Regions from separate parts of the Homo sapiens genome. Here region 1 is linked to region 2. The links are contacts of gene promoters, found by promoter capture Hi-C in human tissues and cell types (Jung and others, 2019). All regions are on one chromosome and are shown on one strand. Each heading gives the region's core, a stretch centred on a gene start or on the middle of the fragment in contact. The rest is flanking DNA. Distances are from core to core; before and after follow the strand shown.

What was found. The method cuts DNA at HindIII sites, captures the fragments that hold promoters and counts their contacts. A contact is called where the count stands out against the background at its distance.
Region 1: a contact is called between a fragment that was not itself captured here and the fragment with the promoter of ST6GALNAC3 in region 2, in 2 of the 25 tissues and cell types used here (heart left ventricle and small bowel).

Annotation. Positions count from the first base shown.
Region 1 is chr1:75,985,984-75,991,925 of GRCh38, forward strand. The region is part of intron 2 of LOC105378806 (a long non-coding RNA gene); the gene reads right to left. Among named protein-coding and RNA genes, the nearest start is that of ASB17, 57 kb to the left of the region's middle. The HindIII fragment of the contact is 6,639 bases long and covers 52-5,942 here.
Region 2 is chr1:76,073,123-76,079,442 of GRCh38, forward strand. ST6GALNAC3 (ST6 N-acetylgalactosaminide alpha-2,6-sialyltransferase 3) reads left to right here and starts at 1,624. Exons shown (of 5, transcript NM_152996.4): 1 at 1,624-1,762. The coding sequence starts at 1,745. RefSeq lists a silencer at 1,425-1,624. The HindIII fragment of the contact is 7,284 bases long and covers 109-6,320 here.

The sequences.
Region 1 (5,942 bases), core at 2,121-4,620, 85 kb before region 2:
GCATGAGCTCACTTTCAACTTTGTTAGAAATAGCAGCGACTCTCCAAGTGACCCTGCTAACTTACAGAACCACTCACAGTGCATTCACGGTCCAGTTGCTCAATATCTATTATGTGAGCGAGTGTTATTAGTCATTGGGTGTTCTTTTCTAGTATTGTCTGTTAGTATTGTTTGCTTAGTTTCCATTTGAGTTGTTTATCTTTTTCTTTATCAATTTGTTCGAGACTTTTAATGTTATGATATTATGGGAACAACAGTTTTGTAGATATATGTGAGCAAAACATTTGTCTAATTTATCTTTTCATTTTTATGATATGTAATGAACTGAAAGTGCAAATTTTAATACCTTGAGTTTATTAATATTTTTCCTCATGGTTTTTGATTTTCGTGTTTTGTGTGAGAATCACAAAAACCTGTGGTCAATATATTCTAATTTTTAAAAGCTTGGGTTTTTACATTTAGGTTTTTAATCACCTGGGATTTATTTTGTTTGTAGTGTGCAGTAGGAGTATACTTTTATTTTTTCCACATTGAAAAAATTGATTATTTTAGTATGTTTTTTTTCATTTCACCAAGTTGTGATGGAATTAGCATGATTTTTTGAATACTTTATCCTTTACCCAATAACCTTTGATGCTGCATATGTCTTATATTAGGATTCTAGATATGCATGAGTCAGTTTCTGGGATCCCCATTGTTCCATTGGTCTTTTGTCTGTCTCTGGCAAATCTCACACTGTCTTAATACTGTCTTACTACAGATAGAAAATAATACTTATGTTAAATAGGACAAATAGGAAAATAATACTGATGTTAAGTAGGACAAATCCCTCAATCCTTATGATATGTAATGAACTGAAAGTGCAAATTGTAATACTTTGGGTTTATTAATAGTTTTCCTTCTTTAAAATTTTTATATTTGTTATTGGTCTTTTGTTCTCCCATATACATTTAAAAATCATATAGATAGATAGACAGATATATAGATAGATAGATATAGATATAGATATAATTTTTGAGATAGAGTCTTGCTCTGTCACCCAGGCTGGAGTGCAGTGGCGCGATCTCTGCTCACTGCAAACTCCGCCTCCTGGGTTCACGCCATTCTCCTGCCTCAGCCTCCCGAGTAGCTGGGACTACAGGCACCTGCCACCATGCCCGGCTGATTTTTTGTATTTTTAGTAGAGACGGGGTTTCACCGTGTTAGCCAGGATGGTCTTGATCTCCTGATCTCCCACCTCAGCCTCCCAAAGTGCTGGGATTACAGGCTTGAGCCTCCGCGCCTGGCCAAAAATCATAGTATTAAATCCATGAAAACTTTTGGAATCTCAGTTGAAATTACATTGGATTAATGAATGAATTTTAGAAAAATTGACATTTTTATGATATTGAGTCTTTTTATTCACAAACATTGTGTATCTTACCATTTGTTTGAGATATCTATAGTATCTTTTAATATTTACAAATTTTTCTCCATAATGGTCTTCTGCATCTTTGGTTTGAATTTATTTCTGGGTATCTTTTATATATATATATTTGTTACTATTATAACTGGTATCTTTTAAAAATACATTTTTCTGTTGATGTTTAGAAATTCAGTTAAGTTTTATATATTCATCTTCCATTCACCAAATTTTCAGGGGAAATTATTATAAATTATTAATGATTTATCAACTGTAAATAATTTATTAATTTTAAGTAATTTCTCTGTAGACCACATCATCTGATAATAAAGTATCTGATTTTAAAATTTTACTGTCCTTTTATTTCTCTTTGTCTTGCTGTATTGGTTTGAACATCCATTGCAATGTTGAATAGAAATATGATAGAGGGTGTTTTTTTTCTAGTTTCTGATTTTAAAAGAAAGACTTCTAATGTATAATGTATATCAGTGAGTATAAAGTTTGCCATAGATTTTGGTATACATTCTTTATTGTTTTAAGAAATCTTTCTTCTATTCCTAGTTTGCTAAGTTTTTTAAAATGTAACTAATGAATGTTGAATTCTATCAAATGTTTTCTTCTGCATCCATTGAGATGGTCATTTTTAAGAATCATTTTAATTGGTAAAATCATATGAATAGACTTTTTCTATCGTTAAGCCATTCTTGAACTCAGGGAATAAATCTTAATTGATTACAATAGCCTATTTATTTATCTTTTTATACACACGGGTGCATTATTAAATAAGATTTACTTATACAGTAGGTCCCCAAATAATGTTGTTTCATTCACTGTCATTTCTTTATAGCATTGATGAGAAGACAAAAAAGCTCTCTGGCTGGAGCCACTCTCTATGTGGAATTTGCATGTTCTCCCCATGCCTGCACTGATATTCTCCCACATCCCAAAGCTGTGCACAGATTTTGTAGGTGCCCTAAATGAATTGGTGTGTCTGAATGGTTCCAGTCTGAGTGAATGTGGAGGTGTGTGTGAGGGCACCTTGTGATGGAAGATTGTCTTGTCCAGGACTGGTTCCCAGAAGAAGATTCAGCCACCCATGACCCTGAACTGGAATAAGCAGGTTGGAAAATAAATGAATACACAAATATAATTTATTGTCAAATAAAAATTCATAAATGAGACCAAAATCATACAGATAAATGACAATAAGCAATGTGGTATAAAAACACTCAGCAAGCCTGCCCTATTTGCCACAGTTAGTTTTTAAATTGCATGGTAATAGGAGGTGCTCCTTACAATTTTTGCTTTGCAAACATTTATCCTGGACTTAACCCTTCACCATGACAGCTGCTAATACTCACTGATTCGCCAAATTTGGGTAAATAATGATCTTACTTGTTTTTATTACTCTTTCTTAATTGTACATGTAGCTCTCTTTTATTTCATTGTTTAATATTAGAAGTGTTTTGGGTCTTTATTTAGAAGTCTGGTAAGTTTTTGTTACCAGAAATATGCCATGGGAACTTAACTCTTGTTTATACCAATTAGCCTAAGATAATAATGAATGAAATAAGATAATAATGAAAACAATTATTGAAACAATTTATAATCGTTTTCATTATAAAACAAAAAACCAGTCCTGGACAAGACAACCTTCCATCACAAGGTGCCCTCACACACACCTCCACATTCACTCAGACTGGAACCATGATTTAAAGTCGCAGTTTCAAAGAACCTATTGACAACATTTAGTGAGGATTTGCTGTGTTATATTTAGGGTTGTCTCGATCTATCTCTCTTTCTTTTTCTTTTTTCCATATTCCAAATTGAGATTGGCAGTGAAGGCATTTTGTCTTCCACTCTCAGAGCTCTCACCAGATGAATCTCAGATCATTATCTCCAGCCCGACATTTCTCCTGAGCTCCGGTCCACACATTTTTACCTGAGTACTTCATTTTCACATGCTCAAAAAATTGTCTTCCACAAATGGCTGCTCTTTTCTTTGACTTTTTTAAACCTAAAAATTGGTTTTGAGCTCTCTTCTTTGCTATATTTCATATCTAATTAATTTCCATGGTCTGTTAGTTCTGCTATGTGACACATCTTTACTTTCTCTCTCTTCATTTCCATCCTTACTATCATAATCCAAGTCCTCATTACTATTTCCCTAGATTATTACAAGAACTATCTAACTAGTCTTTCTTGCTGCAGATTTGATTCTTAACCCCATTCTCCCATTCTAATCTACAGATTCTGCCAGGTAATCTCTAAAAAGAGTCTCTTTCATTATGTCAGTCTTAAGAGCATGCTGTGGCTCTTAGTTGTTTATGTGATACTTAAGTGCTTCCTGGTTGACATGTCTCTCCAATCATAGTTTCCATCAGTTTCCTTCAGAACCTATCTTCCAGCCACACAAGTGACTGTTCCCCAATATGTCTTAGCATTTTCAACATGTAAACTTCTCCTACATTGCCCTTACAATGTCTCTGACTCAAAATCTTAAGCTATCATAGCTCATAGCTAGTGTTTACTGAGCACGTATAATATTCTGGGTAGTGAGCCAACTGCCTAACGTACATCCTTTTCAGTGATCACCATGCTCCTGTGATGGTAAAGATTGCTGCATTGACTGAGTGCTTACATGGTCCAGGCACTGTTCTAAGTATTATTTCACTAAATTCTCACAACAACTCCATAGACAGGTGCTGTTATTATCCTTAGTTTCAAAGGAGGAAATGAGATATAGAGAGGTGAAGTAACTTTCACAGGACTATACAACCAGGAAGTTGCGGATCCAGGATTTGAATGCAAGTAGTCAGATTCTAGAACCTCCATGCTTTACCATTATGTAGGAGGAAATTGATGCTTGGAGAAGTAGAAAAACTAGTCCATCTGTGCAGGACTTCAGGGGCATTGGTTAATGACCCTATCTCTGATTCTCTTATTTCCTTTTCTAGACATTCACTTCTCCAGATCCTCCCATGTTTACTGTAAAGTCTAATTCCCATACTAAATCCTTTAATCCCCTAATACATGGCTCTGCTTTCCTAACTGAACCCTGACACACTCACAGTACTTTCCAGCTCACACATAACTTTCATAGACATGATCTCATTTATTCCAAAGCTTTCCTGGGATTCAAATTATTATTATTATTATTATTATTTATTTATTTATTTATGAGTCTCCCCGAGCAAACCCTAAGCCTCTCAAGAGTGAAGATGGTAAAAGAAGAGAGAAATGCTCTTCCTGTAGTGCCCTCAAGTCTTAAGTGAGAAAATAGATACAAAATATAGGAGTCACAGTTCATGCATTTGCCAAAGGAAAGTAATTCTGAACTTCCAGATGCTTTTGCATGAAGGTGGAGTTTTGCAAGTCTGGAGGACAGCTCCTGGAGATGAAAATAAATTCTACCACTTTACCGGAGAGTTTTATTTCCTCCATATGTTTGTACATTTTTCTTTCCTTATGTTTGTGATTCATCTGTGGCTCAAGAGATGTGTGGTGCCGGGGGATTGATGGCTGGGAGGGCTGCAGAAATGGTGTAGACAGTTACTGCAGTGATGTGATACAATTCTTGGCATTTGCACAAATATGGAGTGTTCAGACAGCCACAAAGTGGTGGAAGTAGCTCTGAGAACCCTGACTTTTACTGGGAAATCACCTGATTTTAGGTGAGGCCGGGAGATCACAGAAAAGAAGATTGATAGCAAACTTTTATAACAACTTTGGGATAGCCTTAGTTATGAGTAAACACTTTCACTACCAATCACAACATTGTTAGCTTTGATCAGGCCTTTGATGAGGCTTTCTGGTGCTTACTGTTCTCTGTCTTCTGCCTTCATGCTCCCTGGAATTTTACTGTCTCCCTCATAGGCTAGTTGAGATGTGGAAGAAATAATCTATGTAGAGCATTTGGCACATCCCCAGCTCCTCCCATGTTTGCTCGGCTCAGATACCTACTAAAGTGCCTGCTGCATAACAGACAATTTGCAGATTAATTGGAAAACCAGAAAAATACCCAGGATGCCTGACTTCTATTCTGGTACCCCTTTTACATTAACTTTTTTTTTTTTAATCAGTTATGTTACATATGCTTACTCATATATTGTCTTCATATCCCATGTGGCAAAGCAGATACATGTGTTGTAACACCTTATTGGTTAGAGACTGCCTTCCTGGTTCTACTCATTACATTCCAATCGTGGCATATCCTCTAAACTTTCTTTTCCCTTCATAAATCCTCTTTCTTTTTTTTCCCCCTCACAGTTTTCCTGAACAGGTTGACTATTAATTGTGTCTGCTTGATGTGGACACCAGGTGGCGCTGGACATCAGATTTGGAGAGGCAGTTGTCTAGGGAACCGGGCTCTGTGCCAGCGCAGGAGGCAGGCTGGCTCTCCTATTCCAGGGATGCTCATCCAGGAAGGAAAGGTTGCATGCTGGACACACTAACCTTGAAGAATTCTTCTGTCTCTCTCGTCATTTAGAAAGGAAGGAAATTGTTAATTTTTAAAAATAAGTCAAACTCGAATTTTACA
Region 2 (6,320 bases), core at 374-2,873:
ACGGTCAGGTGTTTCTCTTTCTCCTTCCTGAGATCTTTGCTTCCAATTTGGCTAAGGCCCTTTCCATGTTATAGTATCATGTATCTCTTATTCTTGTCTTTCTCACTTAACTGTGAGCCCACCTTGATGTTAGATATTCTGAAAGTCATTCTCCTATCCCTGAAAGGTCTTCAATAAAGATTTTTCCTCCACTTAGTGGAAGGTGAATAAAGTTTATTCTTCCATTTAGTAGTGGCTCAATAAAAAAGTTTGTGGAATCAATCAAGGGATGAGTAAATGAATGAAATACTGAATTTTCCTGGCCTATGAAGGACCATGAGCTAAAGCAGCGGTTTAAAGTATATAGTCCCAAACAAAGAATTCTTACTAAAAACACACCGGATCTGTAAGGCAGAGGAGGGAGGGGCGGGAGGAAGAAGTCGAAGAGCAGGGTGTGGTATTCCAGGGAGACTGAAGACAGGAGCTTCCCATGGGACAGGCAGTTCATCCACAGGCTCAGCTTCTGCAACCTCCTTCCTGTGGTTACTCCTGCTCTCTAAGAATTCTGCATGTTCTCATCAAGAAAATACCAAATTCCTTGAAAGCCTGGATTCTGCCTTGTGGTTTGTGAGCCAATCTCATGACACCACCAGCCCACAGTGCTTTTCCTGATTCCATGGAGGCAAACTAGACGGAGCTTCTAGCAAGTGAAACTTCTTTTGGGTAGATATTTGGGGGCCGCTTTTAAAATTTTTCTGACAGACCAAGTGGTAAAAATCTGTGTGTGTACACGGAATGCTCTCTCCCTTCTGCAATGCGTTTACTCTCCTTGTAGAAATAACTGCTTCTCTTAGCCGGCTCTTGCTTGGAGCAGGGAAGAGCAAAGTCCTATCATGTACACATACACAGTTTATAAACATATACTGTACAATCAACATGTACATATATAATACAATATACACATGTGTGCATCCTGTATCTGTATACTGTATATCATGCATATACAATTTCATAAACAAGCTTGTACCAGGAAAAGGCAATAATTTATATATTATACACACATACATGTATATGTAAAATATGTACACACACACAAAATATACCATACAGAGTGTAAGGTTCATGACGTCTTTCTTTCGTTGATATTTGTGCTCACTTATTAGCGGTAAATTATTAATTTTAGATAAGCCCATCACAGAGTGAAGGCTCAATCCTTGAACAGCCCAGGGAGAACTTCGTTGCTACTTTTGAAAAGCCCTTTGATGTGCCCAAAGTCTCCAGAAGGGCGATGCCAAACCCACTCAACTTTGACAAAGTGTGAAACGTCTGTAAAAAGGAGTTCTCTGATGTGTGAGAGGAGACGGAACCGAGAAGAAAAGGCCGTACTCTGCCCCCCGCGGGACCCAGGTCCCCGCCTGCTGCAGAGCGCACTCTGCGCACGTCGAGCCGCGAAAGGTTCACAGAAGAAAACAAGAGAAAGAAGTAGCAGGCACTGAGGAGCCGCCGGCGCCGGCGCCCAGGACGGCACGTGACCCGGGGGCGGGGCCGCGCGGGCCGCGGGCCAGTGGATGGGGACGGGGGCGGGGCCGCGGCTCGGGGGGCGGGGTCTGTGGCGGCGCAGCTTACACCGCGGTCCCCTTATTTGGATCTGCGGGAATGTGGGCTGGAGAGGTCCTGCCGTGGTACCAGCCTCCAGCCTGCCCCCAGGACTGCCCCTGACCCAGGCGCGCCCGCTGCTCGGTGGCAGGAGGGCCGGCGGAGCGCCATGGCCTGCATCCTGAAGGTAACGACTTGGATCTGTGGCTCGGACGCGTGGTTGGCCAGCCCCTTGCTGCTCAGAGGCACGGAGTCAGCCGCGGTCCCACCGCATCCTCATCTCAGTTGTCTTTTCCTGGCATTGATTTTCTTTTTGTTCCTTTGGCAAATGCATATGGAGGGAGATTCTGAAACATGCAGCTGGCACAGCTTCTTTTCCCACCATTCCTGCCTCCTGCTCGCGCCTGCATTGAAGGAGCTGCAGACTGTTGGCTCCAGGGGAGAGCAGGGCTGTGTGCCGAATAATGGGGATGGTAGGGAGAGGAGGGGTGTTCCCGCGGGTCCCGCGGCTCTGTGGAGCCTGAGGCCTTTCAGGGGCCACGGGGAGGGGTGGAGTGGCTAGGCGTGAGTTGCTGGTGGTGAGGGGCATAGCGCTTTAAATGGAGGGAAGAGTGAGCGGAGGTGGGCTCTACTGTGCATTTGATCATGTGAAGACAGAAACTTCTGAGTTTACAGGTAGTCCCTTAGGAATGAGTTTTCTATGAGATCTGCTAGCTCTGTTTGCCCTTAGCTCTACTTTGGAAAAGTTCACACGAGGATGTATATGTTAGTAGAGAACCTCTCACTCTCTTTATGCTCATAAATTTGAATAGACAAAATGATTTTATGCTCTGCCAGAGTGCGCTCAGCCATCCCTTCTTTGTTGAGTTTTCTTTCTCCAAGACCGGATTCTTAGCCTCACCTGAGCATCTTTCTGGGTTCACAGACTTGTGGCCTCAGGTGGGAGAACTTGGTGTGAGGGCCTCACTTAAAAAGAACTTTCCATCCCACTGGTAGAGGCCTCCCCTGCCCTCGTTTTTTTTTTTGCACTACCTTTCTACAAGAACATAACCTGGATGCATGAATCAAAAACATGAACAGCATGAAAGTTTCCTGGGCCTTGACTGGAGAATGCAGAGACCTAGTTGTCCAAGCCTGGGGGAACTGTGTGACGATGGAAAATACCAGGAAACAATTCGTTGTTGTTGTGTTATTGTGAAGTAGCATTTATTTCTCTATAAGATGATATTAAGTCATCTACTGTGTTCTGGTTACCTGAATCGTCTTCTAACGTGCCTGGTGTCAATGATGAAAATAAGAGACTAACCTCGTAGAAGTTGTTTCCCCTTCTTTGCGTAAAGGAGATCAGAAGTTTCCTGTGAGCTTTCTGAACTTCCTCTTTTTGTTTCAGAACATTTTCCAGGACATGAGGAAATAATACATCAGTATTACAGTATGGGGTATTTGACCGGGAGGCTCTTAGCACAAGGACTGAAATATGAATATGAGTCATCTTTACTATTCATTGTGTTATTTGCTGAAAGGGACATTGAGGAGCATGATATTTATTGCTGGCCATCTTTTTCTGTTTTGGTTTCTCCCCTGCCTTGTCCTATACATGTGGTAAACATCTTTAATGCACATCCCAAACTACACATGAATCTGGTCCAATCTTTCTCTTCTAGCACTTCACACTGCTTTCAGACATTTGGGACATATCTGTCCACCTTATCTTCCCTCCACTGAAACTAATGTGGGCTTTAGACTCAGAAAGATATGTCTGGATGCTGGCTCTGCCCACTGCTACCTCTGTGATGTTGGACAAGTTACTTAAATGTCTCTGGGCCTTAGTTTCTTCAATATAAGATCAAAGTAGTGGCACCTGCTTCACAAGGTTGCTGTGGGAATGAAATAAGATAGGGTATGAAAAATACTTTGTGGCACAGGCATTTAATATGTGCCATTTTTTTCCTCTAACATATAATAATAAGTGCAGTTTGGTTGATCCTTACTATATCCTCAGTCTGTTTCTTATAACTATTATTTTTTATAAAATACAAAATGTTTTTTATTCTTTAATCTTTACATAAAACCCTGAAAGATAAGTATCATTGTTTTAAACCCCATTTTACAGATGAGAAAGTTGACGCTCCCTAGTTTAAGAGATTTGCCCAAGGCCACACAGGGTTAATGACAGAGTGATCCTGGATTTAGACCCAGATATGTCAACCTTCCATATACTTTACTGCTGTTCCAGTACTTTCCCAGGTGATGACTTTTAAGATGGCCTAATACCATTCAGTTCCAACCACCTTTGAGCACCTTTGAGCAATCCCCTTCTCTGGTCATGGTCTAGACAGTCTGGGCTGGATCTTTTTTCTTTGTTGTCTTTGAAAAGCTACACATGGAGCAGTGCAGAATACAGGTTTCAGTCCAGAGACCTGAGTTCAGTGCAAGCCTGGCTTCTTGCATATGATTTTAGACAGCTGCTGCAACCTGGAGCCTCAGTTTTCCCTTGTTGAAGTGTTCATAGAATTATAACCATTGCGTTACAGGGTTTTTATGAGGATAAAACTATGGACTTTTTTTTTTTTAATGAAATATTTTCTGCCATTTGCTGACCCTGGACTTGGTGTTGGCATATGTAGAAAAGGAAAGATTTTCCTCTGCCCTCTTAGTTTCTGTGCCTGGTCCTGATAGCTAAACTGACAAAAGGCATATTAACAGAGGAAAAACATACACATTTTATTTGATGTTAATGTTTTTATGTGTACCACAGAGGGCTTCCTATATAAGAAATAAAGACCCGAAGAAGGGGAGAGGCCTGAGAGTTTATAAAGCATTTTAATAGAGAAGGATAAATTGTGGAAATGTGACAAGACAAAGGAAAAAGGGGGTTTGGGCTGGGGCAGTCGATTGTGAGAAAGTGGGAAATGTATGGGGAAAACTAATGGAAAATAGGTGAGTGTTTTTACTAGAGATTTATTTTGGTGTTGACTCTCCATCTTTGATCATAAGAATGTTCTCCTCTTCCTGGCACAGGGAAGGGACATTTCTCATGGGAAATTTTATGCCTTGCTTTTAGGTAGAAATGGGGAGGTCAGAAAGCCCTTCCTGTATCTGCTTTTTCTCAATTGCCTTTAGCTCAAAATAATCAATATGCCAAAGTGATATATTTTGGGGTAGCCTGTTCTGATTCCTTTTACATCACAAGATGCATAAACCATTGACCCCATTCTCAAATGGCTTATGGTTTAGTAAGGATGATAGAAAAGTAAATGAGTGCTTAGGTTACAATGTGAAGAATAAAACTACATAGGTCCATGGAGGGCATAGTAGAAGCATGGAAGGAGAGAGCAATTACCCCTGTCATTGGGTAGTTCAGACAGGCTTCCCACTGATGATATTGGAGTTGTGTTTTGAAGACTAAATAGGATTTACTATGACGGAGCTCGTGTTTTAGAAAGATAAGTTTTGAGGCAGTGCCAACTTTGTTCTGTGGGCTAAGACTTTAATCTTCTCAATGAATTTTGCAGTAGATTTTACTATCCATTTTTACAAATGAGAAAACTGAGATAGAGAGATATTGATTAAAGTATCATTATTGCCTACACAATAGTGACCCTCACTAAGAAGAGACCCCCATGCTGTGGCAGCTAATTTTGGTCTTTTAGGGGATATGGAACTATCCCCTCAAGGTGCTGTGCATGCTGAGGGCCCATTCTGCCAATGCATAGCGCTAGTTCTCGTAACAGAACGATGATCACTTCATAATCATTTAATTTAGGAATTCAGACTTCACATTGCCTGGACTTTAAAGCCAGAAATATGTGACTTTTAATTATGGCTCCACTCCTTATTGATTATAGAGCCATAACAAGTTTCTTGATTTCACTACCTCAGTTTCCAAAATGGGAATCATGCATTCCTCAATGGGTTATTCTAAAGGTTAAATGAGATAATCTGTATATTAGTTATATTGCAGGGGGAAAAAAGAAACTCTGAATCTTAGCAGGTTCATTTCTTGCCATGCTCCTGGTTAGGCAGCTCTCCTGTGTAGCTCTACCATTGAATAAAGAATCAACTCAAGGACCAGTCTCTTTATTATTATTATTTTTTTTTGAGACAGAGTCTCACTCTGTTGCCCAGGCTGGAGTGCAGTGGCGTGATCTTGGTTCGCTGCAACCTCTGCCTCCTGGATTCAAGCAATTCTCGTGCCTCAGCCTCCCAAATAGCTGGGACTACAGCTATGCACCCCTATGCCTGGCTAATTTTTTGTATTTTTAGTAGAGACGGGGTTTCACCATGTTGGCCAGGCTGGTATTGAACTCCTGGCCTCAAGTGATCTGTGTGCCTTGGCCTCCCAAAGTGCTGGGATTACAGGCATGAGCCATCGTGCCTGGCCTAGGACCAGTCTCTTTTCATTAAGCAGCTCTGATGTCTTCTTGGGCCCCAGAGCCCTTGTCAGATTCTCTGTTTTCAGCAGCTCCAGGAGACAGATTACAGGGAAGATCTCGTGGGGTTGTTTAAAAAGTCTCTCAAATTTGATAGACAGGAAAACTCTTTGCTTTAATTTGTATTTATTTGATCATTAGTGAAGTTAAGCTTTTAAATTTGTATTAGTCATTTGTCTTTCTTCTTTTATAAATTATAGATACTTTAAAATTTTATGCAAGAAAATCTATCCATATTTTCTTTTATGATTTCTACCCTTGGTCAGCAGGTACATTTTCAGCACAGTGTCTTGTACACTTTCATTTTTAAAA